Linked DNA regions of Homo sapiens: region 1 is linked to region 2. The links are contacts of gene promoters, found by promoter capture Hi-C in blood cells and fetal thymus (Javierre and others, 2016). All regions are on one chromosome and are shown on one strand. Each heading gives the region's core, a stretch centred on a gene start or on the middle of the fragment in contact. The rest is flanking DNA. Distances are from core to core; before and after follow the strand shown. Region 1 overlaps TMEM39A (transmembrane protein 39A). Region 2 holds the start of HCLS1 (hematopoietic cell-specific Lyn substrate 1).

Region 1 (3,661 bases), core at 1,150-3,649, 2.2 Mb before region 2:
ACCAATCAGACCACAAGCACCTACCAAACAGGGACAAATTCTCTCCTCTCCAGCTGACCTATGTCTGTCTTGCAGAATCAAATGTATCATCCAAAAGTATGTAATACTGAAGCAATTATCTATTTCCCTCCAATACTCTATAGACACTCCAGAAGTGAGTTCTCCTCATCTGGACACTCCTTCTTTCTATATATCCTTCCTAAAACTATATTATAAGCTATCCGCTAGTTCTTTCATGTTTTCATACCTCGTCCCCAGGTCTTTTATAACAAATTATTCCAGCTGCTTGCTTCCCACCAAGAAAGAAATATAAAGCTTTCTTTTCCCCAAATAATTTCTCTAGGTAAACATGTCACAAATAATCACTCAATAATAGTCTTGGTGACTTTTCAAACCATAAACAATTATTTCTTTCATTTTAAAATGTTGGAAAATACTTTTTTCTACCCACTCCCTCCCTCCCCCCAGTTAATTGCTAAATAAACATATGTTAAAGGAGGAGAGAAAGGCAGATTAAAGCAACCATGGTTGGAACCTTGAATACCAGGATAGAAGAGCTACAGTGAAGGCAGAGAAAAGAATACCAAACCCAGTCAAGAGCCGAGGTATTTTCCGAACGTTCCTACTTCTTCCCAGTATACCATCTGCAGACTCTAAGTGCAAGCAGAAGCATCTACAAATGACATTTTCATTGGCTTTCAGTTCTTTTTAATAGCAGAACGCTTTATTTTCCTTTCCTCATGATATTTTACATAGTATCTTAATATTTAAAACACATAGGAAAATGAGTCAGTCTAATTAAAAGAAGACGAGGAAAACTCAAGCCTAGACTGTTAGGCTTGCCTGATCCATTTTCCCTTCTAAGCCCTCCTACAGCAACCCCTGAGACACTGAAGAGGGATTTCATGGGACAGTCTAAGAACATTTTTATCTAGAGAACATAATTATCTAGAGGAATCCTCAAAGCCAAAGTCAAAGAGAACGAACAAAGAACTGCTAGAGTTAGGAGGCAAAGTTAGAATTTTTTAGTTGGCTAGAATCCTAGTTAGGGACAGCTAAGATTTTCTATCACAATTTGAAAGTACTGAATCAATAAGTTGATAGCATATATTAATAAAATTAAGGCATGTACCTCAAAGAGCAAACAACTTTTATCTCAATACCTATATTAGATAGTACCTTTCTTCAAAAGCATTTTCGCATATTCTCATTCTTATTTTTAAGTATATAAAATAATACTTATTTGTAGAAATTTTGTAAAATTCAGTAAAGTTTTTTAAAGTTACTGCAATTTACTACTTCATTTATTTCAACATCCTGCTATGATGCAAACAGTACCATCATTTTTAAAATAAGGAAATCCAACGAACGGCAGAGTAAAAAATACTCTAGCATAAACTAGTTACTCTGTATACATACATAAACAAAACTCGGATTAAAAATTAGTATGAGAATCGGAGACTGGAAAAATCCCTTCAAACTGGAATTTCAGGGAGAGCTCCACTGAAATGATGAGATCAGAACTAATTTTAAAGATTGGGTGGAAGAGGGATTGGAAAGTCAGGAAAAAAAAAGGACAAAGGTCAGGCCTAGAAAACAAAAGTGCATAAATACCATTAGACAGGCCTGAAAATACAGTAGTACTGATTGCTAGCTCTGAAAATTAAAATCAAGACAAGAGAAAAACTTTTTTCAGGGAGGAAGGAGAAATTAGCTGGCAGAAAATATCTTGAGCAAATACTTCATTAGGTAAAAGTATCTCTTTGAACTGCTACATTATCAAACCTCCTGATGGCATGGGCTAACCCAGCTAAAAAACAGCTAACATTTATTAAGACCAAACAATTTTTTGACAATTTAAAATCCTTGATGGAATTTGACTTATAATTTGCCCTCTAAAAAAAGAATGCTTATAAGTAGATAAACCATCACACTTACCTTGTATTTTCATTCACTTCTCCCTTCTTCTAATAGATAAAAAGGGGATAACAAGAATTTAGATGATCAGCCAAAATAAAGAATGGGACTGCTTTCACTTTGTGGGCCCCATTTCACATCTTTTTACCTCCAAAGTATTTTGGAATTCTGAATTTTGTCTTGAAGGGCAGGATTTCTACCACAGTGTCAAGAATAAATCTCAATAAGCAAATATCTGAATGACATGATGACTTTTATGTTAGTCTTACTGATCAAAGGACATTAAAATTATATATAGCCTTATTTTTTCTTTACCTGTTTCTCAAGCCTGTTCCATTGCCACAGCCTCCACCAACCAAAGTCTGCAAAGAAGGTAAAGCTGAACGGCTTAGCTGTTGCCGACTAGGGCCCCTCCTTCCACCGGGCATGTCCAGGAACCAGTCTGCTTCCAGTGCCACCTGTAGTTGCAACCCAGGTTAATGGTTGTCAACCAGTTTCAACTCTGAACGACAACAAAAACATTTAAACATCAGTAGACTATTTTTAAAGTAGGCAACAAAACAACGACAAACACTGAGTAAGCAGGCCTTACAAAATAAGATTTTCAAACGAATGTTCCCAGTGTCTACTACTTACGTTATTCGAATTAAAGGACTACTCAGACTCTAATGGGTCAAAAGCCTAAGTTCTGATCTAAGCTCTGTTCAGCTTTAGGCAAGTGATGATTTGTGTCTTTTGTCAACTGATTTGTATCATCTGTAAGATATTATAATCAAATAGAAGTTTACAAGAAACATCACACCTTATACATTTCCAGCTCAATGTTTCACACTTAAACTACTTGAAATATAGAAGAATTGGCACTTTATAAAACATTAGGTTTTGTTATCAAGGGATATGGCTTGTGAGCTCAGATGGTCACATATTATCTGACCTTATCCGGATAAGTTAACTTCTGAGTGTGTTCTTCTGAGTGTGTTTCTTCAAGGGGGGGGGGCGGGGGGGGGGAGTGTCCCCTGTTCTGCAGAGGTTGTCAGGACTGAGGAAGTGGAATGAAAGGGTACCAGTAGTTCTTTTAACAGTTTAAAAGTAAAACTGTTCGAGTGGTATCTCTATATGTTAGGGTTAAAATATTGAAAGAAACTCTTCAAGGGGATGCCCGCTCCAGAAAAGCTGGTGTAAAATCATACAGAAATTACTGAAACTGCAAGATTAAGAAGCAAGTAAAAGATAAAGATCCTCACTGGAAAAAAAAAAAAAAGCTCTTTTCATCATTCTACGGCAAAAATCATGATTCTGTCAACATGGATACCAATGTTTCCTAAACAATACAACTAAAACCCAAGGATGACACTGGAAAAAACCCGTGTTTTCAAATGCTCCCTATTCCTAACAGCCTTCGGCTGTAAACTAACCCCAAGTCAAACAAAGCATTCAAACCGCTGGATGCAGGGGCTGCTGGTCCTTGCTCCATTAACAAGCAAAGGGAAAGAAAAGTGCAGGGAAAAAACTGGGACGGAAGAGGTGAGAGTATGCGGTGTGGTGGACTGCAGGAGACCACAAACTTCAACAGACTGGTCCCTAAGAGAAGTCGGCAGAAAGGTAGACAAAGCAGTCTCCGCCGCACACCCAAGAGGGCCGAGGCAGGTCCAGGACAGCCGGACCTTGGGGCAGCTCAGTAATACTCACGCATGGAAGAGTCCCAGCCGGTGGGGCGGGGTCCCTAGAAAGCGGCGACAACTTT
Region 2 (3,824 bases), core at 951-3,450:
TGAGCGGTGCTATAATATCCCTAGAATTATGGCCTTATTTCACTCAGGTTTCTATATATGATTCCTTTGTTGCTGTTGAAATACAAATTGGTTCTGCTTCTCACAAAGTGAACATCTACATCCCTCTTTACAACCTGCTGAACTACACTGAGAATTTTTCCAGCCTCTGGTCCAAGTGCTGTCCCACCTCCACCCTGAGTCTGGTCACCTCACAGCTGTGTAAGGTCAGCAGCGACAGTCGGCTGAAATTTCCACATGGAACAATGCATTGGGAGAGCATTATTTGCTGGGAATAAGTCAGTTATTACTCAATTTTTTAAAAATGGTTCAATTAATTGCTAAAGTCAAAAAATAGCATGTTTTCAAGTTGACAATTTACCGTAGAAAAGAAAAAAGAATAATATGTAATAAATCTGATTTTGAACATTAAGAGGTACTCAGTTTTTATCAACTAAATAAATGTTGCAGAAATATTTAGAGAACCCTAGCTTGGAAGGGTGCCAAACTTATTCTGCTGGGGCATTCCCAGTGTTCTAGACGGCCTTCCGGACTGTGCAGAAGGAAGAGCGGCACAGTTGCTCTGCATCTGTGGATTTGGTGTGAAGAAGTAACAACAGACAATGCTCATCTGCTGTGGTCACCACTGAGACTTCTTGACCCTGGCAGCACTTGCTAGCTGGCAATCCTTCCCTCCTCAGACACCTCATCCCATTGGAGACCTTCCCCATGCTCTCCATCGTCTCCAAAGAGTCCCTTTACAACCACTCCTCGGGTTCTCCTGTCTCCACCTAGGCCTTCAGATTCTCCAGTTTTCTATTTCCACTTGAAAGCTCCATCTTCTCCATTGAGCAACCTCTTAAAAACCAGCCCAGGGGAAGTCTGGGTAAATCAGTTAAAGAGATGCTAAGGGGACACCGGAGAGATATTGACTGAGTCAGCCGGGAGTCATGGCTGAAAGCAGCTTGGCTTTCCCTGATGCGGTTGGAGACAGCAAAACATCCTTACTACCTGCATCCTTACTACCCCTCTGCTTCTCATCCCCTGGCTCCTGGGCTGCTGTGCAACAACAAAAGGACTGTCACACAGAAAACTGGAATGGAGAAGTTTCTGAAATAGTCATGAGCAATAAGGAAGCAATGAGGACTGATGGTCCCATCCTCCTTCCTGTGGCTCCTCTGAGGCCTCAGCCTGACTCTCCCATTCACCCATTTTTGAAATAAAGAGTTTCTGAAATAGAGACAATTTATCTAATATCCTTGACCTATTGACCAGAAACCAGAAAGGTAAGAAGTGCTATCTAGAGGTGAGAACCAGAGAGTAATCTGGTGAGGCCTTGTTGCGATGCTGACCTCCTGCATCAAAGTACACAGACTGGGAGTCAGAAGCCCTGGCTGTCACCCCAGCTCTGTGACTAAGCCTCTGAGGGACCATCACAAGGGCATCAACAGAGTAGGTACTCATTTGCCAGGTATCAGACCAGGCGATTAAGAAATACTAACTTTAATAATTTGGCAAATCAGCAATTATCTCTGATTTTCCCAGTGGAAAATAATGAAGGGGTTAACGTAGCTCATCTGTGGTCTCCTTGATTTCTGACATTCTGAGATTCTGTGATCTACGAACACAGAAACTAGCCCCAGCAGAACAATCATGCCTTCTCTTGGGCTCCATCAGCACTTGGTACTCAGTGCTAGTGTACATCAGTGACTACTTCCTGATCTGTTACATTTCCTGTGTGGGTTTGTTTCCCTGAGACCATATGCTCTTCAAGGGCAGACACTGTTTTCGTCTCCTGTGGTCCTCCTCCCAGCTCAGTACCTAGGGGAGACAGGCCTTAGAGTGGGTTGTAGATTGTCAGCAGAAACCAGGCAACACTTTGCTTGATGTTGGTGCTAGATGGCTCCTGAAACACTTGCCTTGGGTTTAAGCCCCTCCCTTTTGTTTCTATCTCCAGATGCTGATTTGCTACAACCACTCACAACCAGGCCTTCTGGCCATAAAAGGATAAAAGCCTACTAGTGGTGACCTTGCCCATCACCAAGGACTAAGAGCCAGGTAGGTTCCTCCTCAACTCTTACTCTGTGTTTCCCAACTGTCCCATGGCTCAGAGTACCCACCTCCACCTGTGCAAGCCTCTGTTCTAAGCGCCCGGCTCCTCGCGTCCACACCGACTCCCTCTCTGGCTGCTGCCACTTCGGAGTGAGAAACTGAGCTGCTGCTTCAGTTCCGTATTCAGGTTTTCGTCATTTCCTGCCACCCCATCCTCACAGCTACTTCCTGAAATTTGAGTCAGTTCCTTCTGCTTTAGACACTTAAATTTTAAAAGGATTAAATGTTTCTGTGCCTGGTCTTTTGCAAGGTTTTGACAATGGGGGTCATAGAGCAGTCATAGAAAATGCTGCTTTGACTCTGAGTTTGTAATCCAGTGAGAGAAACAAACATTCAACCAGAAAACACATTAGAGAATGCTGTAGAACAGCATTGTGTCCTAAATAGGGTGGCAGTTACATTTGAGACAGTAAAGGAATTCAGAGCATTTGGTATTGGGTGTATTCATCAAGAAAGGCTTTATGGGAAAAGTGATTTATATGTGGGTTTTGAAGCATAAGACTTAAAAAGAAACTCACCCCTATATTACCCACAGCACTTAAAAGTGGAGTTTTCATATAGATGTTCAAATAAACGTCGACCAATTGAATGCCAGAAGAGAATAACTCATGAGGGAAAAGGCAAGACATGGAAGGAGAGTTTCCTAGCTTGTTTGGGGCACTGTGGAGTCTGAGCTAACAAACTAAAGATTTGGCTCTAGAGCGTAGGAAGAATTCTGAAAGAACCAGGTGCTGGTCAGCTGATGGAAGAAGGTCTTTGTGGTATCCTGTTTTACTGCGTGTCAAGACTTGCTGCCCCTCCCTTCCCTCTTGAAGTCAGACTTACTCAGGTGACTTGTTTTGGCCAGTGACAGATACCACTTTCTGGCGGAGGCCGTAAGACCACTGCAAGCTTTGCCATGCTTTCACCACTGCCCAAGGCAACCTGCAATTCTCCATATTGGCTCCTCCAGCAGACTGGGTCCCTGAGTGAGAAAGAACACAAGTGGAGCCCCATCCACCATGTGGGGGAATTGGAGTCTTTCACTAAAAAATAGTCCTTTGTTTTGGCTACTGAGAATTTGAGGGTGTCTGTTATTGTATCTGACCTAGCCTTTCCTAATCTTGATTGTGGACTTCTTGATTTGTTCACAACGGTGCATCCTCCAAGGAGTTTAAGCAGGACTGGATGAAACTGGCCCATGATACAGGCACTTTTCTGCATTAGGAATATGAAGCCTCTGTCACTTCCAAATCTAAGGATTCTATGCCTGGGGGAGCTTTATTTATTCCTTCTACTTTATTACCTATTTATCATGGTGGTACCAAAGTTATGATAAGGAAGAGTACGTTTGTACAAGAGAAAAATCACTTGGAATCCTCATGTAGTGTCAAAATACGATTTAGACTAGATGATGTGACACACCATCCAGGTACATAGTTCTCTAGAGAAAATATAGAAATTAATCAGAGATGACACCAAGAAGTCCCATCTTTCCTTAGCAAATGTCACAAGTTCATTACTGATGAGGTAGTGAGGTGTATCACACAGAAAAAGAATGGGCCTTGAAGCCAGACAGACTTGGTTCAATTAAACCACTTATTGTACTTTGAGAAAGTGAGCTATCTTCTCTCAAGCAGCAACTTAATATAAAAATCCATAATAGCTGGGCACGGTGGCTCACACCTCTAATCCCAGCACTTTGGGAGGCTGAGGCGGGTGGATCACAAGGTCAG

The links. Contacts are between HindIII fragments. The CHiCAGO score rates a contact against its expected background, and 5 or more counts as called.
Region 1: a fragment that was not itself captured here is called in contact with the fragment with the promoter of HCLS1 in region 2 in 1 of 17 cell types (total CD8 T cells); the score reaches 6.1 in total CD8 T cells.

What each region holds. Positions count from the first base shown.
Region 1 is chr3:119,459,730-119,463,390 of GRCh38, forward strand. It overlaps TMEM39A (transmembrane protein 39A), which reads right to left. Exons shown (of 9, transcript NM_018266.3): 1 at 3,607-3,661; 2 at 2,233-2,419. The coding sequence starts at 2,345. Among named protein-coding and RNA genes, the nearest start is that of TMEM39A, 2.1 kb to the right of the region's middle. RefSeq lists an enhancer at 3,557-3,661. The HindIII fragment of the contact is 4,172 bases long and covers 314-3,661 here.
Region 2 is chr3:121,658,703-121,662,526 of GRCh38, forward strand. It overlaps HCLS1 (hematopoietic cell-specific Lyn substrate 1), which reads right to left and starts at 2,201. Exons shown (of 14, transcript NM_005335.6): 1 at 2,118-2,201. RefSeq lists enhancers at 2,044-2,233, 2,424-2,473. The HindIII fragment of the contact is 5,970 bases long and covers 1-2,998 here.